7 separate regions of the Homo sapiens genome follow, and regions 1, 2, 3, 4, 5 and 7 are each linked to region 6. The links are contacts of gene promoters, found by promoter capture Hi-C in blood cells and fetal thymus (Javierre and others, 2016). All regions are on one chromosome and are shown on one strand. Each heading gives the region's core, a stretch centred on a gene start or on the middle of the fragment in contact. The rest is flanking DNA. Distances are from core to core; before and after follow the strand shown. Region 1 overlaps PI4KB (phosphatidylinositol 4-kinase beta). Region 2 has its middle 8.9 kb from the start of PSMB4. Region 3 overlaps POGZ (pogo transposable element derived with ZNF domain). Region 4 has its middle 7.0 kb from the start of RFX5. Region 5 holds the start of SELENBP1 (selenium binding protein 1). Region 6 holds the start of CELF3 (CUGBP Elav-like family member 3). Region 7 overlaps PI4KB (phosphatidylinositol 4-kinase beta).

Region 1 (4,303 bases), core at 1,135-3,634, 400 kb before region 6:
ATTTCCAGAGAGCAGGCTCTATAGTCTCCCTCCCTCTTCCTTTTCTCTAGTCACTCTGACTTCCCTCTATTTGAAAGAAGTCCCATTGTATCAAAAACGTGGGTGGGTTATATGCCCCACAGAGGCAGATGCCAAGACCATAGCTATCCGCATTTTTCAAAAAGTGCAAATTCCTCCTTTTTTTCTCCCTCTTTTCTAGGCTGGGTTGGAAGCCAGGATGGGAGCCTGGCCAATGGTGAGTCAGAGGGGAGGACTGGAGCACCATTGTCTGGCTGGGACACCAGGTCACTGACACTTGGTAGTCCACTGGGCAGCTTTCCCTGCTATCTGTCCAGATGTGGAGTGAAGAGTGGGTATAACCTATTCATGTGGCCACCTCTTCCCTGCTCTATATCCTAAGTTATACCTCCAACTGCTGCTGTAGCTTCCTCTTCTTCCCAGCCTCCAGGTCCTTGACTAGGCACTATATTTACTCTATACTAAGAGTGCTTTCTCTTCCCTTTGTGCTTCTCCCAAATGGTATGGGAAAGATACCAGCAAGGCACTCTTCCCCCTAAGGAAAGGCAGGCAATGAAGGCATTCTCCAGATGCCTCAGTGATAAGAAATAAACCTTACACTTATGTCAACAAAAGGTAGGATCTTCAGAGGGTAGTGAAAAGGGATTAGATTATGAGGAGGAGTGGCCAGGAGAATGAAGCCGATGTTCTAACATCTCCCCTACCCCAGCACACAGAAAGACAATAGTACCTTTTCCTTTCCCACAGATGCTGCTCTGAGAGGCTCTGGTAGCTATCTCAAGTCTCAGGTCAGGGTGTGGAGGGCTTCTGCCACAGTTCTCATTAACATAGTAGATGTTAATGGAATGGCAGTTTATTTATTTATTTATTTATTTAGAGACGGAGTCTCACTCTGTCGCCCAAGCTGGAGTGCAGTGGCGCGATCTCTGGTCACTGCAACCTCTGCCTCCCAGGTTCAAGTGATTCTCCTGTCTCAGCCTCCCAAGTAGCTGGGATTACACGCGCCCACCACCACGCCTGGCTAATTTTTGTATTTTTAGTAGAGATGGGATTTTGCCATGTTGGCCAGGCTGGTCTCAAACTCCTGACCTCGTGATCTGCCTGCCTCAGCCTCCCAAAGTGCTGGGATTACAAGCGTGAGCCACCGCGCCTGGCCAGTGCAGTTTAATAAAAATGATTTGGGACACAGTCAGGAGCGTCAGCCTTGCCATGACCTATATGACCTGAGGCAACTCACTTTATCTCTCTGGGTCTGAGTTCTTCCTTTGTAAACTAAGGCAGGCAAAATACATGAATTCTAAGGCCTTTCCATTCTAACATTCCATGCTTTTATCAGTGAAATGAAACAGGGAGGACAGAAAGAACAGCGTAACCCTGTGTGTATATAGGAGGCATCCTGTCTCCATGCAGCCCTCTACCACCTTTTGTCTCTGGCCCTCCCCAGAATTTTACCTCATCCTCATTCTCCACTTTAGGGTTGCTGGCTGTTCGTTTCAGGTTGCTGCTGAGACTTATGCTGGCAGTGGCATCTGACTTAGAGCGCTGGTGAGTCCTTTTGGAGGGAGACAGCCCTGTGTCAGGGGCCGGGCTCAAGGAGGGCAGCTCCCTCTTCCTGTGAGCTGGCTTTAGCTCATCTGAGAGGATCAGCTTCCGTAGCTTGGTCCCACGGGAGTGTCGTTGAGTGGAAATGTGCATGTCTGAAGAATAGGCCCCAAGCAACAGGGCACACTGGAGGGAAAAGTTAATGCTCTGGCGGCAACGGTGGACTATGTAGGGCTTAATGGCATCACCCACGTCCTCATCCATGTGGATGTACATGTTAAGCAACTGGGGCAGATAGAAGTCCACGTCCTCGTTGCGAAAGCAGAAGAGCCGGTTGCCAATGTAGGCTTGTACTCCAGGCTCCTTGGAGTTATACAGGTATGAAATGGCCATGGAGATGTCAAACAGTTTTGACTCAAACAGCCTCAGCAGCCAAGACTGTTTAGCTGAGTTGTTCTGCCGCCGTCTTCTTGCTCCTTTGGCTGTGCCTGAGGCCACAGCGGCCCCCATCTCATCTTCCTCCTCCCTGATCTGGGCAGGTGGATCATCTAGGCAACGGATCTCACTGTCCACACCATCCCCATTGACCAACTCCAGTGGGGTGCCTCTGCTAGAGACTGCCACGCCTCCATGCAAAAGCTTGACTTTCTCCAACACCTCCTGGCAGGCCTTCTGGGCCACCTCAGGGTCAATCACTGATAGTTCCCCGACCCCCTCCGTGATGACACTTAGCAGGGACCCCCCATTATTCCCTGGTGGGCCAGAAGTGGGCTCAGAAGTTGGCTTCAAGGGGGCAGGCTCCACTACTGTATCTCCCATGGCCACAGCCAGACTTCGAGCTTCCAAGCTACAGGAAGAGGGAGGGAGAAAAGAACAGAAAGGGAGACACATACACACATTGGTTAGTGGTGCCATCCTCAGATCTTCCCTTTGCTATGACACCTTCCCAGGCACCTCCTCTTTTTGTCTTCCTGGACTCCTTCAAAATCAGATAAGAAGACATATCCTAGGAAGCTTTCCTGACTACCTCCACTTCTGATTACATTACTCGTCATTCCTCCTGTAGTTACTCAGCTTAGCCTCTGTTCTTAGCTTATATATGTGAAATGTTGTTTTGTATATGTTGTATTTATATAGATTTACAAATTCTTTTTGTTGTTGTTGTTGTTGTTGTTGTTGAGACGGAGTCTCGCTCTGTCACCCAGGCTGGAGTGCAGTGGCGCAATCTCAGCTCACTGTAAGTTCCGCCTCCCGGGTTCACACCATTCTCCTGCCTCAGCCTCCCAAGTAGCTGGGACTATAGGCGCCCACCACAACGTCCAGCTAATTTTGTTTTGTATTTTTAGTAGACACACGGTTTCACCATGTTAGCCAGGATGGTCTCCATCTCCCAACCTCATGATCCACCCACCTCGGCCTCCCAAAGTGCTGGGATTACAGGCGTGAGCCACTGCACCTGGCCTACATTTACAAATTCTTTTTTTTTTTTTTTTTTGAGACAAGGTCTTGCTCTGTTACCCAGGCTGAAGTGCAGTTGAACAATCTGGGCTCATTGCAACCTTGACCTCCTGGGCTCAAGCAAGCCTCCCACCTCAGCCTCCCAAGTAGCTGGGACCACAGGTGCACACCACCATGCCTGGCTTATTTTTAAATTTTTAATCTTATTATTTTTGAGACAGGGTCTTGCTCTGTTGCCCAGGCTGGAGTGCAGTGGCGCGATCAGAACTCACTGTAGCCTTGATTTTCTGGGCTCAAGCAATCCTCCTACCTCAGCTTCCCAAGTATCCAGGACTACACGCATGTGCCTCCATGCCTGGTTAATTTTTTAAATTTTTCTGTAGAGACAAGGTCTCACCATGTTGCCCAGCCTGGTCTTGAACTGAGCTCAAGCAATCCTCCCTCCTCAGCCTCGTAAAGTGTTGGAATTACAGGCATGAGCCACCATGCCTGGTGATTTACAGATTCTTCGGGTAGACTGAGAAGCAAGTCAGGTGTTACTCCCTTGTTCCCTAACTCTTCAAATACTTTTCTATCCACTTGCTCTTCCTGTCTCCCTTTAAATGCCTGCTATAACCTTTTTATTTTCCACTTTAGACTATATTTCCTTACTCATATAACATTCTACACACAGGTCCTGTGCATCTCACCTTTATTTTTATTTTTTAGAGACAAGTCTTGCTCTGTTGCCCAGGCTGGAGTGCAGTGGCATGATCATAGCTCACTGTAACCTTGAACTCCTAGGCTCAAGGCATCCTCCTGCCTCAGCCTCCCGAGTAGCTAGGACTTTAGGTGTGTGCCATCATGCTCAGCTAATTAAAAAAAAATTTTTTTGTGCAGATGGCGTCTTGCTGTGTTGCCCAGGCTAGCTTTGAACGCCTGGCCTCAAGCAATTCTCCTGCCTCAGCCTCCCAAAGCACTAGGATTACAGGTGTGAACCACCTTGCCCAGCCATCTTTATTTAATATTAAAGTCTTGGCTAGGCGCAGTGGCTCACGCCTGTAATCCCAGCACTTTGGGAGGCCGAGGTGGGCAGATCACGAGGTCAAGAGATCGAGACCATCCTGGCCAACATGGTGAAACCCCGTCTCTACTAAAAATACAAAAATTAGCCAGGCGTGGTGGCAGGCGCCTGTAATCCCAGCTACTCAGGAGGCTGAGGCCGGAGAATTGCTTGAACCTGGGAGGTGGAGGTTGCAGTGAGCCGAGATTACGCCATTGCACTCCAGCCTGGAGACAGAGTGAG
Region 2 (3,760 bases), core at 917-3,416, 330 kb before region 6:
AGATAAAAATGAAGGTTACTTGGGAAAAGAGTGAAGTTGGGTAATTTTTACTTTGTATATTTATTTATTTGGGAGAGTTTTGCTCTTGTTGCCCAGGCTGGAGTGCAATGGCGCTATCTCGGCTCACTGCAACTTCTGCCTCCCAGGTTCAAGCGATTCTCCTGCCTCAGCCTACCAAGTAGCTGGGATTACAAGCACCTGCCACCACGCCCGGCTAATTTTTGTATTTTTAGTAGAGACGGAGTTTCACCATGTTGGCCAGGCTGGTCTCAAACTCCTGACCTCAGGTGATCTGCCCACCTCGGCCTACCAAAATACTGGAATTACAGGCATGAGCCACCACGCCCAGCCTTATTATTATTATTATTATTATTATTATTATTATTATTATTTTATTTTATTTTATTTTTTGAGACAAAGTCTCGCTGGGTAGCCCAGGCTGGAGTGCAGTGGTGCAATCTCGGCTCACTGCAACCTCCACCTTCTGGGTTCAAACGATTCTCCTGCCTCAGGCTCCCAAGTAGCTGGGACTACAGGCGCCCGCCACCACGCCTGGCTAATTTTTTTATTTTTTTATTTTTAGTAGAGACGGGGTTTCACTATGTTGGCCAGGGTGGTCTTGAACTCCTGACATCGTGATCTGTCCGCCTCAGCCTCCCAAAGTGCTGGGATTACAGGCGTGAGCCACCGCGCTCGGCCGTACCTGTCCTTCTTGGGAAGGCTTTCCAGGTATTTGAAGGGACTTAGGTGTTGTCATCTAAGCTGTCTCTGCATTAGGCGGCACCCCAAGCTCAGTAATGCTGTGGTCCCTGCAGCCTCATAGAGTACCACCTTGGTGGTCCTGAATAAGAGCCAAAATAATTCTCTGGATTACCAGGTAGAAATTCCTATTCTCTTCTTGTATTTTCTTCCAAACAAACAGAGTCTCTCTCAAAGTCTCAAAGCCATTTGTAGTGGCATAAGGATCTTGCCTGTGAATAGCCACTGCTCTCCAGCTTGGGCAACATAGTGAGAACTCATCTGTCAAAAAAAAATTTTATAGTAATGCTGAAATCTAAAATCGTATTATAACCTCTCTCAACCCACCATTTCCCTTTCCAGGGACCAAGTTACTCCCTTCCTCCCCTTTCCCCAGGAAAGCCTACTTCCTGCTTTAATTCCATTATAATTGGCAGATTTCATTTATTTTTATTTATTTATTTTGAGACGGAGTCTCGCTCTGTCGCCCAGGCTGGAGTGCAGTGGCGTGATCTCGGCTCACTGCAAGCTCCGCCTCCCGTGTTCTCGCCATTCTCCTGCCCCAGCCTCCCGAGTAGCTGGGATTACAGGCGCCCGCCACCACGCCGACTAATTTTTTGTATTTTTAGTAGAGACGGGGTTTCACCGTGTTAGCCAGGATGGTCTCGATCTCCTGACCTCGTGATCCGCCCGCCTTGGCCTCCCAAAGTGCCGGGATTACAAGCATGAGCCACCACGCCCGGCCGCTTTCATTTATTTTTTATTGCTGGAAAATGTTTCAGAAGTTCCTTACTTTTTTCCCAGAGTGTCATTATAAGTAAGACTATATAAAACTCATTTTCAACTGCCACTATGACTCAATTTTACACACATGCGCGCGCATCCCCCACCCTCGCCTGCCCACATTCTTAGTGTTGTTTTGTGTGTTTAAATTAGCGCAGATGGTACCATATCATATATGTCATTCTGTGGTTTATCTGGTTCACTCAACAATGTGTTTGATATGTTAGGTTCTTTCCTTTAAGCTACCTTGTAGTATTCTTTTGTAATAATATACTGCATTTTATCTACTCCCCCTTGATGAGCATTTAGACTGTTTCTATTTTTTTGCTATTACGAACAATGCTCTGATGAACATTCTTGAATGTTTCCTAACGTGTACATGTGAGTGTCTCTATGTTATAGGTTTATTGGGTAATTTAGCATGTGTAATTTTCAGTTTTATTAGGTGCTATCAAGTTTTTTTTTTTTTTTTTTTTTGAGACAGAGTTTCACTCTTGTTCCCCAGGCCGGAGTGCAATGGCACAATCTTGGCTCACCGCAACCTCCACCTCCCGGGTTCAAGTGATTCTCCTGCCTCAGCCTCCTAAGTAGCTGGGATTACAGGCACCCGCCATCATACCCGGCTAATTTTTGTATTTTTAGTACAGACGAGATTTCATCATGTTGGCCAGGCTGGTTTCGAACTCATGACCTCAGGTGATCCACCCGCCTTGGCCTCCCAAAGTGCTGAGATTATAGGCATGAGCCACTGCACAAAGCCTTAAACATTGCCTCAAACCTCAGTGACCTTTGCCTAGAGGTGTAAACCTTGACTCTAATCTACCCCGACTAAAGGACTATGACTCTGGAGCATAATCTTGGCAGGAAGCATGTTAGAACTGCCCTTCTCATTGCCAGTCTCTGATTTTATTTGTTTGATTTAGCACAGATTAGGGGAAAATCTGAATATCCATAATCAGACAGGTTCACTGGTCTGAGAAGGGTGTGGAGGTTGAGCACAAAATTTCCTCTCCCTATTCCAGAACTTGGGAGTTACACAGTTCAGTGAACCCTTGAAGGTAGAACATCAGAGGAACAGAGGGTACAGAACTGAATGTGTAAACTGTTGATCTTCTGGGCATTCCTGGTTGTGAGCTTTCCCAGTATGAGAGGTGCTCAGAACGGGGTGGGCCAGGCCTAGTGGTTCAGGGGAATAACGTGTTCTGAATGTGTGTTTATTCTTTTCAACTTTATTATTTTTATTTATTTATTTATTTGTTTATTTGTTTTGAGATGGAGTCTCACTCTGTTGCCAGGCTGGAGTGCAGTGGCGTGATCTCTGCCCACTGCAACCTCCACCTCCCTGGTTCCAGCGATTCTCCTGCCTCAGCCTCCCGAGTTGCTGGGATTACAAGCGCCCACCACCATGCCCAGCTAATTTTTCTATTTTTAATAGAGATGGGTTTTCACCATATTGGCCAGGATGGTCTCGATCTCTTGACCTCATGATCTGCCCGCCTCGGCCTCCCAAAGTGCTGGAATTACAGGTGTTAGTCACCGTGCCTGGCCTTATTTTTATTCCTTATTTTTGAGACAGAGTCTCTCTCTGCCACCCAGGCTGGAGTGCAATGGCACCATCATGGCTCACTGCAGCCTCGGCATCCTGAGTGCACGCCAGTCTCCCACCTCAGTCTCCTGAGTAGCTGGGACTGCAGGTGCACACCACCAGGTCTGGCTAATTAAAAAAAATTTTTTTTTGTAGAGATAAGGTCCCATTATGTTGGCCTTGAACTTGAACTGCTGGGATCAAGTGATCTGCCAGCCTTGGTCTCCCAAAGTGCTGGGATTATAGGCGTGAGCTACTGTGCCTGGCCTTATTTTAAGCAATGCCACCAAAGGGCTGAGGAAGGAATGAAGACTAGATGAACTAAAATTTCAGAGAGGGGAGAACTTTTCTGAGGTGAGTTGAGTATATACTTAGGATTGGGTTTAACCTAGACAGAATGCCTCTCCTTGGGAAGACCATCAAAAGTTTCTGGTGGCCATGCAAAGCAAGTTGGAAACTTAAGGGGCCTCTAACTATGGCCAGTTTTACCTATGGAATATTTGCTGAACACTGGGAATGTGCAGGAGCCTGGAGAGTCAGGCTAAAAGCTCCTAAAAGGCAGACTGAATCTCCTATGGTCTGGAATTATTGATTAAAAAATGAAGATCTGCTGAGGCAGAGCAGGGAGAAGAGCCTCAATTACTCAACTGGTCT
Region 3 (4,236 bases), core at 1,050-3,549, 300 kb before region 6:
TTCTTTAAAACACTTTCTTCTCCCCAGTTTCCTTAAGGTTAAGACTCTTCTGGTTTTCCTCCTAGTACTATGGTGGTTGCTTTATAGATAAGGGACTTCAAATATCCTAAGCCTTCTCTTATTCTCAACAGGGTTGGGGGGCCCATGGTATTTAAGTTTAAAATCTATAGGATTTATATAACGCTGATTCCTAAATCTTTTCTACAACCCAGAGTTCTCTCACAGGCTTGAGATCTATTATCCAACAGCTACACTTGACATCCACAGATACTGCTAACTTACAATATCCAAGCTCATGATCTCCCCCCTCACAAATATACTTTCTCTATTGTTTCTATTTCAGCAAATAGTTCCCTCATTCACCCAACTGCCCAAGACAGAATCTTAGGCACTATTCTTAACTACTGCATTGCTACCTTCACCTAATCCATCTCTACATCATAAATATCACAAATCTTCTGAATATCTCTCAACTCTACCCTCTTTTTATTTCAAAAGCCAATAGCCACTATCATCTCTCACCTAAACTACTGAAAAAGGCCTTCTAGCTAGTTTCCCTAACTGTAGTCTCAATCTCCTTTAATCCATTCTCTGCAGTGCAGGCAGTATAAAGCCTTAACTAAAGCTGAACACATCACTCCAGGGCTTAAAACCCCTTTAGTGGCTTCCCAGTGAATTCTTTTCATGGCTTAAAAGATCCTCCATGATCTGTCCCTGCCTAACTTCCAACCCCTCTGTCTCTTACACCCTACACTGAATCTCTCTCAATTTCTTGAACCTCCACAATTTTGCTTTGTGCCTTGGGCACACTGTTCTTCGTCTTATTTCATCTGGCTCATTCTTATTCATCCCTCAGGTATTGAACAACACTTCTTTCTGGAAGCCTTACTAGGCACCCAGAATAGCTATGTGATTTTCTATATCCTATAATTTCCCCAACACAGTACTCTTCATGTTTTATTGTATTGTTTGCCTTGTTTACTACTAAATCTCTAGCATCTAGACTAGTACATGGCACATTAAGTGAATTCAATAAATTTCTGCAAACATATGCATATTATAATCTCTGCCCAAATTATTTGCCTAGCTCAGCCCTGGCCCCAGCATCCATGTTTAAAAAAAAAAAAAACAAGAGAATATGGGAATTGCTTGGTGCCTAGTACCTGGTGCCTCATGTAATGCTGTTGGAATGCATTGCCATTTTTGAAGACCTTCAGGCAATAAGGGCAGAGCAGATGCCGGGTATCCTCATGGATCATCCGAAAATGGACATCTACCTCAGAGTAGAGTGAGGAGCGATATTGACACACCTGAGTCACATAGGAGGGAAAATAAGGCTAAGAATGAAGTGAACAACTGAGAGGCCTTAAAAAAAAAGGTAGCAACAAAAATTTTTAAATTAAAAAAAAAAAGTTTTCTCAAATGCATAGAAATCAAATTATTTTCCTGACTTTGTAATGCTGGGCTATGTTTGTGATAGGTTTAGCTATTACTTTAAAAATAGGAAGGGACAGAAAGTCTAAGAATAATCCATGTTCTCTAACTAAGAAAAATAAAGCCTTTTCTGTCAATTTCCAAAGGGCACGTTCAGGAGACAGACACTCCCTTAGAATATGCACATGTTCCCGGCTAGTCTACTTGTGGACATGTTCTTTTATGTTTTTCTCCTGCATGGAAACCCTGAAGATAAACTGTGTTTACTATTTCTTCTGTACCTACTCAGAGTTCCTAAACTGAGTGTATGCAGTAGGTGGTCAACAATATTCATTAGTAAATTCTTTGTATTCTTCCTGAGGGCAAAACTGCTAAAACTCCCTGGAGAAAAAGGCAATACCTGGCAAACATAAGGCATCTCTCCAGGCTTATGAGTATCCTTCATATGCTGGAGAAATAGTGGCTCACTTTCAAACGCCCATTCACAGATCTTGCACTTGGCTGTAAGAAGAAAAGTAATCAATAAATCCACTTGAAAATAAGACAAAAGTCCTGCTGACTCACAATCTTTATTTTCTCTGCCTCCTTTATTTTGATTTTCAACAATCAGTAAATCATAGGTCCCTTCTGTTCTTTCTTTAAATGGCTCCACCTTAACATATATGTTGCTGATAATCTTATGTACGTAGCTCAGACTTCTTACCAAAGCTTCATTCTAGATTTTATCTATAAGACATTTTAAATTGGTTATTCTATCGTCAACTCTAACCTAATTCAGCATCCTCCTGTCTTACCACTGTTTCCCTTTTTCCTTTCCCCATTTCTTCCTGAGCTCAAAATTTAGGCACTATCTCGGATTCCAAACCCTGCATTCTGTCACCATTATTTCAAACTGCATGTAGGAACTGTCACTTCTCTATACTTATAATAAGGCAAAAACTTGGTACTAGCCCATATGATTTCCCACTGCTAATCAGCTGGCCTCCAATACCTCCTACTCTCTTTGAAATTGTCCATTTTGTCAAGCTTATGAGAAAAAATTTTGACAAAATTTTATGACACAAATGAACAATTTTGTCAAACTTCTGAGACAATTTTTGGTAATTTCATGTTGGCCAGGTTGGTCTCGAACTCCTGACCTCAGGTGATCTACCTGTCCCAGCCTCCCAAAGTGCTGGGATTATAGGTGTGAGCCACCGTGCCTGGGCTTTTTTTTTTTTTTTTTTTTTTAAGAGACAGAATCTCACTGTTGCTCAGGCTGGAGCATGATCATAGCTCACCGCAGCCTCCTGAGTAGCTAGGACTATCCTTTGAGCTCAAGCGAGCCTCCTGTTTCAGCCTCCCAAGTAGCTAGGACTACAGTGGTGCACCACCATGCCCAAGTAATTAAAAAAAATTTTTTTTTGTAGGGACAGGGTCTCGCCATGTTGCCCAGGCTGGTCGGAAACTCCTGGCCTCAAGCAATCCTTTTGTCAATCCACTTCAGTCTCCCAAAGTGCTAGAATTACAGGTGTGAGCCAGTGCACCGGCCAATTTTGGTAAGACTTTTAACTGCTACATATTTTTAATTATACAGTATGGCAAAAAGAGAGAGATTATTTACATTTTTGTCACTTTAATGGAATTAGTTTCAAGTTTTTGCAAATATGAAAACTGGAAGCTTAAAGCCTTGGGCATTTACTGGACAATGTCTAACCTCCCCCCGCCCCCAGCCCCCTACACCCCAGCCAAAGAAATATGAATAAAGTTGAAATAATTCTTTTTTCTTTTTTTAACTACCGAGAACCCTGGATTTTTGTTTTGAGACAGAGTCTCGTTCTGTCTCGCACGCTAGAGCGCAGTGGCTCAATCATGGCTCACTGCAACCCTGACCTCCCAAGCTCAAGCAATCCTCCCATCTCAGCCTCCCAAAGTACCAGAATTACAGGTATGAGCCACTGTGCCTAGCCAAGTAATTTTTTAAAGTAAAACAAACAAACAAAAGCCAGGGGTTCTTAATCTGGGGTCTATGGAACAGGCCTCTAGGAATCCAGGCTTTCTCTGAAATTATTTGCAAAAGAGTAAAATGTAGATTTTTCTAGGAAGAGGATTCAAACATTTCATATTTATTCTCAAAGAGGTCTGCAACTCCATTTAGAAACACTGTCTACAGGTACATTAGGTGCTATGAGGACATGGATAAATAAGAAATTCTGCATAAAGGAATGAGGAAAAGCTATAACAACATATAAAAGCTGAATTGTCAAAGAATGGGGCTCAGCCAGCCAGAGAGAGGACCAAGAGAAAAGCAGGAGGAAAGGCAAGTAGGTATGAAAGTTAACCACATGTTTGGGAAACAGTTAACTAGCAACATAACGATATTATCTCTTTTCCACTCACCCCCCGATTTGTTTACCTCTCTCATTTTTCTCTTCTAGAACACCTTTAAGCAATATTTTGTCCAGGCCTTTCTTAGTCTATGTTTTCCCTGGGCAATCTCATTCACTCTTTCTCCTATAACCTATTTATCAGCTCTATTTTCACAGCTGTCATGCAACATCAATAATAAAAACACTTATTAAGCAATTTCTAATGTACAAGCATCAGGTTAAGATTTACATGTGTTGGCTGGGCACGGTGGCTCATGCCTGTAATCCCAACACTTTGGGAGGCCAAGGCAGGCGGATCACCTGAGGTTGGGAGTTCAAGACAAGCCTGACCAACATGGAGAAACCCTGTCTCTACTAAAAATACAAAATCAGCCGGGCACAGTAATGCATGTCTGTAGTCCCAGCTACTTGGGAGGCTGAGGCAAGAGAATCG
Region 4 (3,830 bases), core at 1,256-3,755, 360 kb before region 6:
ACTAAGAGACTAAGGTGTGCCAAAGAGAGTGAAATATGTCCAAAAAGGGAGTGGTATTTGTTCATCTGGGTTCCTAGAGTAGGTATTTCCATTCCAGGATGCGGGCTGTCACTTATCTGGGGCCTGCAGTTTAATTTTCAGGCTGTTCTTTGTTTGAAGGAGTTTTACCAAGGACCCACCTTAACTGCCTGCCTGACTGGTTTCTTCTTTCTCCTCTCTCATTTCATTCAGAATTTGCTCTTGGACACTATTATACATTGCCTACTAAGATTGGGAGTGAATTTTTTTTTTATTTTTTAAGACAGTGTCTTGCTTTCTCACGCAGGCTGGAGTGCAGCAGCACAAGCTCGGCTCACTGCAACCTCCACCTCCCGAGTTCAAGCAATACTCCTGCCTCAGCCTTCCGAGTAGCTGGGATTACAGGCACGTGTCACCACACACGGCTAATTTTTTATATTTTTGGTAGAGATGGGATTTCACCATGTAGGCCAGGCTGGTCTTGAACTCCTGACCTCAAGTGATCTGCCCATCTTGGCCTCCCAAAATATTGGGATTACAGGCGTAAGCCACTGTATCTGGAGCTTTTTTTTTTTTTTTTTTTTTTTTTTACCACTGCACTCCAGCCTGGGTGTCAGTGAGACTCTGTCTCAAAAATAAATAAAGAAAGAAACAAATGAACAGCTGGGCACAGTGGCGCATGCCTGTAATCCCAGCACTTTGGGAGGCTGAGATGAGTGGATCACTTGAAGTCAGGAGTTCAAGACCAGCCTGGTCAATATGGTGAAACCCCATCTCTACTAAAATTATAAAAATTAGCTGGGCTGTGGTGGCGTGTGCCTGTAATGCCAGCTACTTGGGAGGCTGAGGCGGAAGAAACACTTGAACCTGGGAGGCGGAGGTTGCAGTAAACCTAGATGGCGCCACTGCACTCCAACCTGGGCAACAGAGTGAGACCCTGTCTCAAAAAAATAGGTAAAAATAAATAAATAAATAAATACAATACAATACAATAATAAAAAAGAATACAAAGACAAGCTGCAAATTGGGAGAATATATTTTCAAGACATATAACTGACAAAGGATTATTATCTGGAATTTTTGAAGACTTCCTACAAAAAAAGATAACCAGCTGGGCATGGTGGCTCACGTCTGTAATCCTAGCACTTTGGGTGGCTGAGATGGGCAGATCACTTGAGGCCAGGAGTTTGAGACCAGCCTGGCCAACATGGTGAAACTCTATCTCCACTTAAAATACAAAAATTAGCATTAGCTGCGCATAGTGGTGCACACCTGTGGTCCCAGCTACTTGGGAGGCTTAGGTAGGAGAATCGCTTGAACCTGGGAGGCAGAGGTTGCAGTGAGCTGAGATCGCACCACTGCACTCCAGCCTGGGCATCAGAGTGAGACTCTGCCTCAAAAAAAAAAAAAAAAAAGAAAAGAAAAAGAAAAAAAAGATAACAAACTAGAAAAATGGATGGGAATTTCACAAAAAAAGCAGAAATGGCTCATAAACATATGAAAAGTTATTCCCTATGTAATAATCAGGAAAATGCAAATTTTAGAAGATACCATTTCACACCCACTAAATTGGCTTTTTTTTTTATTTGAGACAGGTTCTTGCTCTGTCACCCAGGCTGGAGTGCAGTGGCGTGATCATGGCTCACTGCAGCCTTGACCTCCTGGGCTCAAGCAGTCCTCCCACCTCAGCCTCCCGAGTAGCTGGGATCACAGGCACGGTACCACACCCAGCTAATTTTTTTGTATTTTTTGTGTAGACAGAGTGTCACCTTGTTGCCCAGGCTGGTCTTGAACTCCTGAGCTCCAGCGATCTGCCCACTTTGGCCCCCCAAAGTGTTGGGATTACAGGTGTGAGCCACAGCAAAAGTTTTAAAGTCTGGCAATATTGAGGGTTGACATGGTTATGAATCAACAAGCGCTTTCATTCACTGTTGCGGGAGTGTAATTTGGTAAAACTGTTTTGGAAAATAGTTTGATATTACCTGGTGAAGTCGAATATGTGAGTATTTCAATTTACATTTAATATCTCAGTAATCCTGCTCTTAGACATATGCCCTAAAAACACAGGCAGTAAAGTTTATAGTCTCACTGCTTGCATTAGCAAAAACTGGAAATGACCCAATATCCGTCAACCCTAGAATGATAAGTTGTGATATATTCACTGGATGGAATGTCATAGAGCAGTGGAAATTAATGAGCTACAGCCACACACATCCACTGGATGAACTTCAGAAAGTGAAAAAACCAAAACCCAGAAGAAAACATACAGTGCAATGCAATTTATAAATATTTAATATCAGGCAAAACTGAACAATATATTGTTTATGGGTAAATACATAGGTGGTAAAAATAATTAATAAAAAGCAATAGAATCATGACCATAAAATTAAGGATAGAAGTTACCTATAGTGAGCAAGGGAAAAGAGTTTGGGAATGGTTGTTTGGCAGTTAGTAACACCTTACATAGCATCTAATTTAATATGCTTGTTTTCCAATGAATGGCCAGCCATTTCAATATATACTATCATTTTCTTCTTCTTTTAACTGTTTCCTTTTACAGTTTTATCATATGCTTTTATTGTATACTAAGTTTCCTTGTATAGTTAGGTGTATTTCTGGATCTTAGCCTCTCTTTTTAAAAAAATTTTAATTTAATTTTATTTTTTTAAGACAGAGTCTCACTCTGTTACCCAGGCTGGAGTGCGGTGGCAGGATCCTAGCTCACTGCAGCCTCAAACTCCTTGGCTCAAGTGATCCTCCCACCTTGGTGACCTGAGTAGCTGAGATTATAGGCGCATGTCTCTTTTGTTGATTCTTTTTGTCTATTTCTCCACCCATAACACACTGTTTTAGTTAATGTTTTGAAATACTATATTTCAAAGTATAGTATATTTTGAAATCTAATGCTGAGAGTCTTCTGTTATTGGTTTTATTAACTAAAAAAATTATTCCTATATATGGAAGATTGTATTTTCCAAATGTGGCCACAATGTTTCTGGTTCCACACACTGTTTCAGAACCTTACAACTTCCCTGTCAAGAGGTGGAGTCGGCCGGGCATGGTGGCTCACACCTGTAATCCCAGCACTTTGGGAGGCTGAGGCAGGTGTACCACCTGAGGTCAGGAGTTTGAGACCAGCCTGGCCAACCTGGTGAAACTCTGTCTCTACTAAAAATACAAAAAATTAGCTGGATGTGGTGGCGGGTGCCTGTAATCCCAGCTATGTGGGAGGCTGAGGCGGAAGAATTGCCTGAACCCAGGAGGCAGAGGTCGCAGTGAGCTGAGATCATGCCATTGCACTCCAGCCTGGGTGACAGAGTGAGACTCCGTCTCAAAAATAAATAAATAAATAAACAGATAGATACATAGATAAATAAATAAATGAAAGAAATGGAGTCTAGTCCCCTGTTTCCTTGAACCTGGGAAGGCCTTTGTGACAGGCTCAGTAATTGGAATGTGGTGGAAGTGATGCTGTGTGACTGTCAAGTGTCGGCTGGAGTAGGTGACACACCTTCACATTTGCTGCTCTCTCTTGGAACACTCGCTCTTGGAACCCAGCTACCATGTTGTGAGGGAGCCAAGCAGCCATATGGAAAGGTCATGTGTAGATGTTCTGGCCCCAGCTGAAGGTCCAAGTGACAGCAGCATGAGTCTCCAGACATGTGAGTAAGTGAGCTATCAGATGATTCTAGCCTCTAGCCTTTAAGCTGCCTCCACTGACACCAAGCAGAGACAAGCTGTTCCTGCTGAGCCCTGTCCAAACTACAGATCTGTGGGCAAAAGTAATGTTGTCATTGCTTTAAGCCACTAAG
Region 5 (3,802 bases), core at 523-3,022, 340 kb before region 6:
CAGAGTCTGGAAACCTGGTTTCAAGTCCCAGTTTTGACGCCCCGTTTCTCCATTTTCTCCTCTTCATTTACGAAAAGTGGGCAATAATGATATTCTACCTACTTTGCTAGGTAGATATGGAGGACAAATAAGACAATGTATTCCAAAGGCCTTTCATAAAAATGAATTAGGCCGGGTGCGGTGGCTCATGCCTGTAATCCCAGCACTTTGGGAGGCTGAGGCGGAAAGATCACCTAAGGTCAGGAGTTTGAGACCAGCCTCACTAACATGGCAAAACCCTGTCTCTATTAAAAATACAAAAATTACCCTGTATTAAAAATTAGCCTGTATTAAAAAATACAGGCATACACCTGTAATCCCAGCTACTTGGGAGGCTGAGGCAGGAGAATCACTTGAACCTGGGAGGTGGAGGCTGCAGTAAGCCGAAATCACGCCACTGCAGTCACTCCAGCCTGGGCAACAAGAGTGAAATTCTGACTAAAAAAAAAAAAAAATAATGAATTACTGTGTAAATATGGGAAGGGCTGTGCCAGAGGAGAGGAGAATGCCAGGGAGTGCTCGATGCCCAGCGAGAGGGCTGGAGGTGGGGCAGGGAGAGAGAGAGAGGTCCAGTTCACAGGAGTTAAGGAGACTGGTTCTGTTACACAATCTTGCTAAGTCGGGGCTTGGCACCAGATGACAGGGGGTGGGGAAGGAGGTTGCTGGATACAGAAGGGAAAGGAGATTTTAAAACTCCAAGACCTCAAGACAGAGATACAAAAAATACAAAGCTAGGGAGAAGCTGAGAGGGAAGTAAAAGTGCAGAGATGGAGCTGCCCGCTCTGCAGCCTCGGCCCACCCCACACCCCAGCAACCCCAGCCCCAGCATTTCTTAGGGTCAGGCCTGGCATGCCACTGCAGCCCCAGGGAGCATCATTCCTCTTTCTGGGGAATACCCCCATCTGAAACATCTCAAGCAAGGTCTCGGAGCAGCTTTGGGTTTGGGATGGACTCATGGAAAGCTCAAGTGGGTTTTCCATGTCAGGCTGGCTGCTGGGCATTCTGCCAGCTCGGCATTCTGCCAGCTCAAGAGCCAGCCCCGAGCGGGGAAGGACCTCCCAACCAAACCTCAGTTCCTTCTTAGCCTGTCACCCAGAAGCCTACAGATGGAGGAATAGCAGGGCCAAGGGGGATTTAGGGGTGGGGGAGGCATTGAAACAGGTCCCCAGTGAAAGAGTGTGGGGGTCTCTGATTTCCCTCCCAGAGAGCTTTGCTGTGTGGAGTAGCTAGAGAGTGACCTGGGCACAGAAAGGCTTTGGACTCCCTACCTCGCTGGAGTACAAAGTTGGCCCATGGCTGAAATCAGGATCACCTCTCTACTATGTGAGGGCCAGGGACCTAGTGGTGTTTTCTAAGAGCGCCCATCTGATTTTCCCAGCTGCAGAAAGGCACCCTGGTCCCAGCCTCTGCTGGATGGAGCCAAGTCAGGGCCCAGGATCCCATCTCCCAGCAGTGCCTCTGCCCGTCTTCCTCAGAAAGTTTGGCTGAGCTGGGAAATGCAGTGGGGTGGTGGGGGAGGGGGTGTGCAGACTGGGGACAATGAAGCAGAGTCCACTACTCCCTCCCCAGCTCCCCACTCAGGTTTTCTAGCATTTTCTGGAGGAGGGCCTTCCAAATTAGGGGCAGACAGAGCAGGCAATGGGTGATTGGAAACCCCTCTCCTTACCCATGCTGCCGACTGGTACACTTTGATCCCGGCGGGTTTGCTGTGCTGGTGTCAGAGGCCGCTGTTCCGGGGAAGGAGCGAAGGGAGGGAATTTATACAACCAGCTGGGGGTGGGGCAGAGAAGGAGGAGGGCCCGGGCTGTAGCCCAGAGTAAACTACTCAGGGCAGCTGGCCAGGATACTCTCAAGTGGCCTAGGGCAACTGGTGTTTGAATTATGGGGTGTGCGTGTATGTGTTTAAGTGTGTATGTGTGGGAGCCTGTGCTTTATTTATTTATTTATTTATTTAGAGACAGGGTCTCACTCTTGCCCAGGCTGGAGTGCAGTGGTGCGATCTCGGCTCACTGCAACCTCTGCCTCCTGGGTTCAAGTGATTCTCCTGCCTCATCCTCCCGAGTAGCTGGGATTACAGGCACCCACCACCATGCCCAGCAATTTTGTATTTTTAGTAGAGAAGGGATTTCACCATGTTGGCCAGGCTGGTCTCAAACTCCTGACCTCAGGTGATCCACCCGTGTCGGCCTCCCAAAGTGCTGGGATCACAGGTGTGAGCCGCTGCCCCTGACCAGCTCGTGCTCTTTAGTGGGTGCCTGGGTGTGTGTGGATTTGTGTGTCTGGGCATGTGTGTGTTCCTGTATACCTGCGTGTTGCTCGTGCACGTGCCTGCATGAGTGTGTATCTGTGCCTGTGTGTGAATTTCCACGTGTGTGAATGTGCCTGTGAGTGTGCTTGTGTGTATTTGTGCGTGTGTGTGTGTGCGCGCCTCTGTATGTGCCTACCAGAGTATCTACGCCTGTGTGTGTGTGTGTGTGTGTGTGCGCGCCTCTGTGAGTATGTGCTTGCTAGAGTATCTACGCCTGTGTGGACATGTGCATAAGTGCTTGTGTATGTGTAGTGTGTGGCTATGTGGCTGTGCATGTGCTTGTGTAAGCCTGCGCACGTATGTGTTCCTGTGTCTCCAAATGCTCGTCTTTGTATTTGGACCTGTCTCTTAGCATTTAGGGGCACCCGGGACTGTGGGCCCATCAGCCAGGGTCACTTCTTCCCTAAGATTGCCCTCTTATTCCAGATATTCATACTCTTTGGATAAAAGCTCTGGGGTGAAGTTTTTATTGGCTAGGAAAAAGAATAAAGTCTGGGCTTGAGATTGCAAGTAGAATACAGGGTTTCCAAACCAGAGTGGGGGAAGGGGAGCAAAATTGGGCCTTGGTGCATTGGGTATCTGTCTTCCTGGCTCCCATCAGTGAGGGATCATGTGCCCATCAAGGAAGACTCCCTGTGGCTGCCCGGGGCAAGGGTCTTCTCTTATCCCCAGCGCCACTCAACCCCTCTTGGCTCCATCCTGCATCTATTATCCTCACCATTGTGCCATCAGCCTGCCAGGCATCAAAGAGAGTCTTGTGTGTGCAGCTGCCCCACGGGGAAGGCCCTGAAGGCTGCTTCCTTGTCTTTGCCAGCTTCCTCCTGTCCTGACTACCTCCACTCACCCTGCCTTCACCCTTCCCTCTGGCCCTCCCCTCTTCCTCCTCCTGAGGTCTCCATCTCCTGCCTCCTCTCTATTCTCCGGCTTCTTGGCTTGGGTTAGTCCACCACCCAAGATCTGAAAGAGAAAGAAACTTTATCCCCACCTTCTCATAAAAAATTATTGAGTCATTAACTTAAAAAAAAAAAGGCTGTTATTTTGTTTGTTGTGGTCTGTCATTGACTACCTCTTTCATGCTCCTGAGCTCTGACCTGGCTGGTCTCTGCAGCAACTCCATGGCACCCCTCACCTCTGCCTGTGGTTTTCTCCCTGAACTCTTGCTCTACAGCCAGCAGGTGGTTGGGGAAGTTATCCTAATCTGGGCTACAGAGGGAGGCAGTAAAGGTAGAGGGGCGATTCTCCTGCCTCAGCCTCCCGAGTAGCTGGGACTACAGGTGCCCACAACCATACCTGGCTCATTTTTGTATTTTTAGTAGAGACGGGGTTTCACCATGTTGGACAGGCTGGTCTCGAACTCCTGACCTCAAGTGATCCACCCACCTCCGCCTCCCAAAGTGCTGGGATTACAGGCCTGAGACACCGTGCCTGGCTGACCTGGATAATTTTTAAATTTTT
Region 6 (3,946 bases), core at 1,286-3,785:
TGGTGTCCAGAGACTTTTCCCCACACCTTCCAACCAGCGAGTCCTCCCTCTAGTGTTGCCCCATGGGCAGCTTGGGAAGTGGGGAAGGGGCTGCATCTGCTCCTGGTAAAAGTCATGTTTACGCCACTAATCGCTGCTTTCCTTCTCTCCAGGTAACAAGAAATGCATGCATCTACAGCAAGAAAGATGGATGCTACAGAGAGAGAGGGGGACTTCCTGGTGATGAGAGGAGGTGGAAATTATGCTCAGTGTCAGGAGGGTGGTGAGCCTCCTGCCACTTCTATGGCCCTTCTCAGTCCCCTGGCCCTGCAAAGGGCAGGACTCACCCCTGGAAGCGTCTTCTGTTCGTGCAGGGCGCTCTGGGCCTTCAGGGCTGAATCCCGGGCACAGTATGTCAGGAAGGCACATCCTGAGGAGGGGCAGGGGCAGAGAAACACGGCGGGGGGTGAGTCCTCCATCTCCCCTCTCTGAAAGGCTCCCTTCCAAAGACTGACGACTGGGAAGCTTTCCCTTCTTGTCATCTTCTGCCTGCTGGGGTAGAGAGGTGTCTCCAAGGGGTAGACTCTCTGCCCCAGAAGTGGGGCAGACACCTGGAGGCCTAAATACTGGTGGTGATGGGAGAGGGAGGACACTTGGGCTGTCAGGAGATGGGCTTTGTGTAGGGAGAGAAGGACCATGTGACCGCCAGACAAGTAAGAGTAGTGTGGCTTTCTCTCCTGCTGAGCTGTTCTCCTTTCCCCTCTCTCCCTCACCTCCACCTCCCTCCATCTTGATCACCATCATCCCTCTCTTCTCCCATTTTCCCTATTTCCTCATCTCTCCCCACCTCCACCATAGGCAGGTGGAGGACGGAGAGTGAAATAGAGAAGGGAAGGGAAGAACAGTTAGTTAGCCGGAAGTGCCTCTTCCCTGTGCCAGGTGGAGGGGGAGCTGGTGTGGCCCCTGGGATCCCCGGTGTGTGGAGCTCTCCAAGTGCTGACCCTGACCGCCCCCACTTAGCCGCACAGCCCTTGGATAGGCCTGAGGAGCACCCTCCCTTCTCCCCCACTCTCTTAACTTTCTAAGCCTCCCACACTTTCCAGATCTTTACCAATCTCCAGCCTTCATGCCCTGCTTCCTAGTCCCTCTCTTTAGTCCTGGAGCTGCCCTGCCCAGTCCAGCTCCACGCTTTCCACATTGAACACCTGACCCTGTGTCCTGACCCCCATCCCAATATTATCTGAGGCTGCTCAGATTCTCAGTCTTGCTGCACACGCACACACACACACACCCCTACCCAGCTGCTTATCTCCCAAACCAGCTCTCTTGTCCCTCCATTCTTTCTTGAGTTCATCCCATGACATCAACACACCCATATGTCTGGGATCCACATCTTTGCAGCCGTCTTGACAACTCTTCAGCCAAAAGAGGCCCTCCTTAGTCCTTCACCGGGGTTTCCTGATCACTCTAGCTGAGTTCTTTTTCAGCTCCTCCATCCACTTTCCTCAGGCCTGAACTCTTCTCCTTCCACATCAGCCCTTCCCAGCCGCTCCACCCCTCCAGCCTGGCTTAACTTCCCCCAGCCTCCCAGCCCACCCCGAAGCCTCTTCAGCCTGCCCGACCCCTCACCCTTGTGCAGCCCGGTGTACTTGTCCTTGATGACAGTCAGCTCAAAGATCCGACCAAACTGTTCGAAGATGGGCTTCAGGTCCTTCTCCTCCAGATGCCTCGGGATCTGCCCCACAAACAGCTTGATGGCATCCGGCTCCTTCATTGAGGCGGCCCAGGAGGAGGGGCCGAGGGGAGCAGGGAGAGGCCCAAAGGCCAAGGGGAGCTGCCCAGCAAGGAGATAAGTGGTGGGGCCCGGGGGCCCAGCTGGGGCTGGCTTTCCCTTTGGCCCCCAACCACGCTGCTAAGCAGAGGGGCGGCTCTTCACACAAAGGAGGCCCAGGGAGTTGAGTGCTAGGGGTCAGGGGTCTAGGCAGACGCTGTCATGCCACCAGGGGGCATCGCCTAAACAAACGATCTCCCTCCCAGAGATCTGGCAAATGTCCCAGGATGGGGGTGAGTATGGCCAAGACCTGGAGGGTTAGGTGGTAGCCGGGGGTGCTAGGGCTTAGAGGGCTGGGAACTGGGAGTTGAGATGAGAGCTGGAGGCGGGGAAAGGGCCTGAGGAGGGTGATGGGGAGGAGACTGAGGGGTTAAGGGGCCTGCTATGGTTGCCAGCAGCGTCAGTAAGGGGGGCCCACTCCTGATGTGGGGCAGGTGAATCTCTCGTTGGCTTCCCTGGGAGGACACCTCCCCTGTGGCGGATCCTTCTGCTGGGTCCGAAGATCCCTGATGCCAGATGCTTGATCTCTGATGGCGGCAGGGCTCCAGGGGTCCCTTTTGCCCTGCCGCCCCCCTTCAGGTCCTCCCCTCAGCCCCCCTCCCACCCCCACCCCAGTCCCCGGGCCTGGGCTGCTGCCGGCTGCTCCCGCCGCTGGGGCTGCCTGCTTTCCCGGTCACCTGGGTCCCGGAGCTCTGCTCTCCGGCCGCGCTCTCCTCAACAAAAACCTCCCCCCTCCACACCCCCCTCCCCACTCCCACCTCCTTTCCCCTGACATCAGTGATGTCAGTCTCAGGGGTCGAATACAAATTCTCTACCCTGGAGAGGGACGCACAATCCAGGCACGAGCCACGCCCTCTTTCTATCTCCATCCTCCCTGACTCCCTTCCCGCCCCCAGAAGAGCAGCTGGTCCTGTTGATAATAACCCTTCCCCCATCTTACTCCCCAGTCAGGAGTTGGGCAAAGCACTAAGATGGAGAATTTATAGAGGAACCCTAAAGTGGGGTCCATTGTTCCGGGGGCTGGAGCTGTCCCCGGTGCTGGAAGACTCAGCAGATGGGGGGTGGCGGGGAAAGAGGGGAGCCCGGCATCTGGGGAGCCCCAAGAGTAGAGAGTCAAGGAAAGAAATCAGGGGAAAGAAAAATGAGAAAGGACGGTTGCATAGGCTGAAGGGAAAGGAGATATAGATGGAGAGGGAAGCAGGTCGCAGAGTCTGGGGGAAAAAGAAAAAATGCAGAGAGGAAAAATGGAAAGGGACGTGGAGAAGGAGGAGCAGGATGAGAAGAATGCAGAAAGAGAACTGTATATTTTCCAGAAAAGGAACCAAGAAAAACGATAGCTTTCTGGCATTTGCCGATGCCCCCTTCTCTCCCTCTGGGGGGTTTGTGTGTATAAGTGCGTGGGCAGGGAGGCCGCGGAGGCGGCGCCGCGGGCGCTCTCACTTGTAAGCTCCTTGAAGACCAGGACACCGTTTAATTCAGCATCTTACTGTTCACAGTGTCTAGCACCCTGTCTTGCTCATGCGTAGCAGGAGCTTAACAAACACTCCATGCAAACAACCTCTGACAACAGTGGATTCCTGATTCCTTCAGTGGGAAGAACCACAGCTGTCAAGCTTCCCCTTAGGATGCAGAAACCCAATTACTCTTTCCTTTGCTTCTTTCTTCAGTTGGGTTCTTTGAGTTGGACTCAAATTGAGCCAGGTAGCACAGAAGAGCAGGGGAGGCACATTCGGGGACCATTGCTCCCCTGACCATGGATACTTCTATGGATGATTGGCAGGCTCCACGATCTGGAGGGAGCGTGACCCCTCCATGCACTGGGCCCACTCAGAGCACGCCCTCAGTGCAGGGATTATCTGTGGACATCAAACCTTGTCAGTGGTGGTAGCCCTTGCTTTCTGTCAGTGCTCAGCAACGGGGGCTCTCCTGGGGCTCTGGGCTTTTGTAGAGCACCCTGTCTTCCTGTCATTCCCTTCTTCTCCCCCGGGGTAGGGCTGCTGTTTCCACAGAGGCACTCGTGTCTCTAAACTGTGTCCCAGCTGAGTCCCAGGGGCCTCCATTCCTGAGCTATCACGGCAGGCAGGCTTCTCTTCTGGAAGGGAAATAATAGTAACAGCCAGTGCTTACATGGCTCTT
Region 7 (3,913 bases), core at 579-3,078, 420 kb before region 6:
TGGTTTGGCCAAAAGAGGAGGGACAAAAGGAGAACCTAGTCCAACCTGAGTTCTTCCCCACTCAGGGAAAACACTAAAGATTTAGCAATCCAGGCACAATCTTGTGAGCCAGAATGGTTCTAGGAGTTGTCATGGTTCAACCTCACATTTTACAGGTGAAGAAAACAGAGGCCCTGAGAGAGGAAGTGATTTACTTGCCCAAGGTGCCATAGCCTCTCTTTTCACTACCAGAGTTAGCTCCAGCTGGAAAGCTGCTTAGGACTACTTTTGAAGCAGTTAAAGAGATCCTAAAACCTGACTCCAGTATGGGGCCTCATTCATTGTTGCCACTTCTTTCCATTGGTTGATTCCATTCATGGCTCGACTATATCTATTCTTTTTTGAGGTACTATGAACGGCTTATCAGCTACCTGCCCTCCTCTATCCCTTCTTTTTTAGAGGATGGACTCTCATCTTCCAAACATACTAATTCCCTAAAGGAAAGCCCTGGGGCCTGACTAGTGCCAGCTTCCCTGCCACCCATTTACTCAATCCCAGGACTGAGCTCTAGGCTCCCTGGGCCCTGAGTTCAAAATCCTGACACTTTGAGATAGTCTGAAGCTTGCAATCAAATTCCTTATAAATAATTGCATTCTCGGCCGGATGCAGTGGCTCACGCCTGTAATCCCAGCACTTTGGGAGGCTGAGGCAGGAGGATCACCTGAGGTCAGGAGTTTGAGACCAGCCTGGCCAAGATGGTGAAACCCCGTCTCTACTAAAAATACAAAAATTAGCTGGGCGTGGTGGCGCATGCCTGTAATCCCAGCTAATCAGGAGGCTGAGGTGGGAGAATCACTTGAACTCTGGGAGGCAGAGGTTACAGTGAGCCGAGATCACGCCACTGCACTCCAGCCTGGACAACAGAGCAAGACTCTGTCTCACACACACACACAAAAATATTACATTCTCCTACAGCTCTCAAATGCAGAGCCTGGGTCCATTTGTAGGGCTGGCAGGGTGGAATGAGCGCAGGGTGGAATGAGCACAGGGTCTAAAAGCTACCTGACTGTTATTTCCCTCATGAGGAAACACGTGTCTGACAGGGTTTTCATCTGGTTTAAATATAAGAATGTCAGGCCATGGCAGAACTTAATAGATGCTAGATTTCTTTTTTTTTTTTTTGAGATGAAGTCTCACTCTGTCACCCAGGCTGGTGTGCAATGGTGCGATCTTGGCTCACTGCAACTTCTGCCTCCTGGGTTCAAGTGATTCTCCTGCCTCAGCCTCCCAAGTAGCTGGGAATACAGGCGCCCGCCACCACACCCAGCTAATTTTTTATTTTTAGTAGAGATGGGGTTTCACCGTGTTGGTCATGCTGGTCTCAAACTCCTGACCTCAGGCGATTTGCCCACCTCGGCCTCCCAAAGTGCTGGGATTACAGGCGTGAGCCACCACACCCAGCCTAAGACTAATTTTTATTTTTTTTTTTGAGATGGAGTCTCAGTGTCACCCAGGCTGGTGTGCAGTCGCGCGATCTCATCTCACTGCAACCTCCACCTCCCGGGTTCCAGCAATTGTCCTGCCTCAGCCTCCTGAGTGGCTGGGATTACAGGCATGCGCCACCACGCCTGGTGAATTTTTGGTATTTTTAGTAGATATGGGGTTTTGCCATGTTGGTCAGGCTGGTCTTGAACTACTGACCTCAGGTGATTCACCTGCCTCAGGCTCCCAAAGTGTTGGGATTACAGGCGTGAGCCACTGCATCCAGCCTAGATGCTACATTTCTAATAAGCTGCTCTGTTAGCTAGCTAGCTAGCTAGTTGTTTTGTTTTGTTTAGACAGGGTCTCACTCTGTTGCCCTTAACCTCCTGCTCAAGTGATCCTCCCACCTCAGCCTCCAAAGTAGCTGGGACCACAGCTGTATACCACCATGCTTGGCTAATTTTTATTTTTTGTAGAGACGGGATCTAACTATGTTGCCTAGGCTAGTCTCGAACTCCTGGGCTCAAGCGATCCTCCTGCCTCGGCCTTGTTGGCTAGATTTTTTTTTTTTTTTTTTGAGACTCGCTTTGTTGCCCAGACTAAAGTACTGTGGCATGATCTTGGCTCACTGCAATCTCCACCTCCTGGGTTCAAGCAATTCTCCTGCCTTACCTCCCGAGTAGCTGGGATTACAGGTGTGCATCACCAAGCCCAGCTAATGTATGTATGTATGTGTATGTATATATATAAATTTTTTTTTTTTTTTGAGTTGGAATTTCACCCTTGTCGTCCAGTCTGGAGTGCAATGGTGCCATCTTGGCCCACTGCAACCTCTGCCTCCCGGGTTCAAGTGATTCTCCTGCTCAGCCTCCCAAATAGCTGGGATTAGGCGCCTGCCACCAGGCCCAGCTAATTTTCTTTTTGTATTTTAGTAGAGATGGGGTTTCACCATGTTGGCCAGGCTGGTTTCAAACTCCTGACCTCAGGTGATCCACCCGTGTCAGCCTCCCAAAGTACTGGGATTATAGGCATGAGCCACCACACCCAGCCATTATTAGCTAGATCTTAATGGGCCACCATGTTACTGGAAGCCCCAGCAGCACTGGCCATTGCATTTCCACCTTTCCAGGACAGCTGCCCTGTGCCGAGGGTCTAGAGCTGGAACTCATAGGAGCATTCAGGGCAGAGACCCTGGGTCACTGTTGGGAGATACTCTTAGAAGGCAGGGCCTAGATGGTGTAATTATTTTTGTACATTATGTGCCTCACCTATATGTGTAGTTAGTTTTCATCAAGGTCATGTCATATTGAAAAAAAATGACAGCTCTGGGCAAAACAACAGATACTTAAAAGCTGTGGAAATCATATGCTGGAATAAGAAGTGAGGAGAGTTCATGGCTGAGAGTTTCCACTTCATCTCCATCATGTTTCTCCTTTCTGCTCTCAGTCACTAACCACTACCCTTAGTGCCAGGCCCTATTATCTCTTGCTTTGTTGCTAAACACCCAATTACATCCACCTTCACCCACAGTGCCACAGGGCATTTAATCAACACAGACTGGATCATGTCATTCCTCTGCCTGCAAAATAAAACACCTAAGCTTCACAATGAAGGCCCTTCTTCAACTGGCCTCAATTTACCTGCCTCATGGTACCACCTCCTACTCCACTGCCATGCAGTGCAGTCTGTGCTTTAATCACATTCAATTATTTCTTCTAGCTGGGATGTACCTCCCCTGCAGCTTCCTCTGTCATCATTTTCCCTTGTCCTTGAAGACCCTGCTCACTCAAACCCTTAGTCCTCCCATAAATCCTTCATTTCTTTGCCCTTTTACCCTAGTTCTTATTAGTCTGCCTCCTGACTTAATGTCATGGGAACACATCTGTCTCTGCTTAAAATACATTGTTTCATTTTTCACATCTTTGCCATGGAGGGCAGTAATAAGTAATTGAGAACTACACACGAAGGGACAGAGAGAACCCTGGAGAAATGTTAGGATGAGCAGCAGAAGTCACCTACCTGTCCTTGACTTGCAGCAGGTAGCAGACCAAGCAGTACCCAGCACAACTTTGCACAAAATTGCGCTGTGCACTGAGGAATGCCTCAGTGGTGTAACTGCCGTGCTCCTGTAGGAAGTAATCGAGCAAGGAGAGCTGTGACTGTTTCTTCACCTGATGGATGGACACAGCATTGACCACTGGTTCAATCATGCCACTATCAGCCGAAATCACAAGAATCTTGTATGGCTTGATCCAAAGGGGCACTCGCTCCTGTTCCCAAATGGACTGTGAGGAGACATGGAGGATACAGGACTCTTATCTTTCTCCAAACTAGAGAAGAAGGCTAAAACTCTTCCCTTTCTCCAGCCTCTCTCCTTGGTAGCATTGAATTCTAAGCCATCAAATGAGTAAGACTCACTTAACCCAGTGAGGACCAGGGAGTTTGGAAAGGA

What was found. The method cuts DNA at HindIII sites, captures the fragments that hold promoters and counts their contacts. A CHiCAGO score of 5 or more calls a contact.
Region 1: a contact is called between a fragment that was not itself captured here and the fragment with the promoter of CELF3 in region 6, in 1 of 17 cell types (erythroblasts). The highest score is 6.7, in erythroblasts.
Region 2: a fragment that was not itself captured here is called in contact with the fragment with the promoter of CELF3 in region 6 in 1 of 17 cell types (M2 macrophages); the score reaches 5.4 in M2 macrophages.
Region 3: a contact is called between a fragment that was not itself captured here and the fragment with the promoter of CELF3 in region 6, in 12 of 17 cell types (M0 macrophages, M1 macrophages, M2 macrophages and 9 more). The highest score is 12.4, in M0 macrophages.
Region 4: a contact is called between a fragment that was not itself captured here and the fragment with the promoter of CELF3 in region 6, in 2 of 17 cell types (M1 macrophages and M2 macrophages). The highest score is 6.1, in M1 macrophages.
Region 5: the fragment with the promoter of SELENBP1 here is called in contact with the fragment with the promoter of CELF3 in region 6 in 2 of 17 cell types (M1 macrophages and M2 macrophages); the score reaches 7.5 in M1 macrophages.
Region 7: a contact is called between a fragment that was not itself captured here and the fragment with the promoter of CELF3 in region 6, in 1 of 17 cell types (erythroblasts). The highest score is 5.5, in erythroblasts.

The regions. Positions count from the first base shown.
Region 1 is chr1:151,314,103-151,318,405 of GRCh38, forward strand. It overlaps PI4KB (phosphatidylinositol 4-kinase beta), which reads right to left. Exons shown (of 12, transcript NM_001369623.2): 2 at 1,471-2,407. The coding sequence starts at 2,379. Among named protein-coding and RNA genes, the nearest start is that of PI4KB, 11 kb to the right of the region's middle. The HindIII fragment of the contact is 375 bases long and covers 2,198-2,572 here.
Region 2 is chr1:151,388,807-151,392,566 of GRCh38, forward strand. No RefSeq gene overlaps it. Among named protein-coding and RNA genes, the nearest start is that of PSMB4, 8.9 kb to the right of the region's middle. The HindIII fragment of the contact is 9,586 bases long and covers 1-3,760 here.
Region 3 is chr1:151,410,462-151,414,697 of GRCh38, forward strand. POGZ (pogo transposable element derived with ZNF domain) reads right to left here. Exons shown (of 19, transcript NM_015100.4): 11 at 1,835-1,935; 12 at 1,164-1,310. Among named protein-coding and RNA genes, the nearest start is that of PSMB4, 13 kb to the left of the region's middle. The HindIII fragment of the contact is 318 bases long and covers 2,141-2,458 here.
Region 4 is chr1:151,352,338-151,356,167 of GRCh38, forward strand. No RefSeq gene overlaps it. Among named protein-coding and RNA genes, the nearest start is that of RFX5, 7.0 kb to the left of the region's middle. The HindIII fragment of the contact is 5,255 bases long and covers 1-3,830 here.
Region 5 is chr1:151,370,933-151,374,734 of GRCh38, forward strand. SELENBP1 (selenium binding protein 1) reads right to left here and starts at 1,773. Exons shown (of 12, transcript NM_003944.4): 1 at 1,706-1,773. The coding sequence starts at 1,709. RefSeq lists enhancers at 1-380, 1,127-1,710, 1,711-2,294. The HindIII fragment of the contact is 17,083 bases long and covers 1-3,802 here.
Region 6 is chr1:151,714,268-151,718,213 of GRCh38, forward strand. CELF3 (CUGBP Elav-like family member 3) reads right to left here and starts at 2,536. Exons shown (of 13, transcript NM_007185.7): 1 at 1,609-2,536; 2 at 327-409. The coding sequence starts at 1,753. It also overlaps a transcript of RIIAD1 not described here. RefSeq lists an enhancer at 2,466-2,760. The HindIII fragment of the contact is 2,919 bases long and covers 503-3,421 here.
Region 7 is chr1:151,295,328-151,299,240 of GRCh38, forward strand. It overlaps PI4KB (phosphatidylinositol 4-kinase beta), which reads right to left. Exons shown (of 12, transcript NM_001369623.2): 9 at 3,481-3,746. Among named protein-coding and RNA genes, the nearest start is that of ZNF687, 15 kb to the left of the region's middle. RefSeq lists enhancers at 1-195, 196-1,178 and a silencer at 1-20. The HindIII fragment of the contact is 2,461 bases long and covers 599-3,059 here.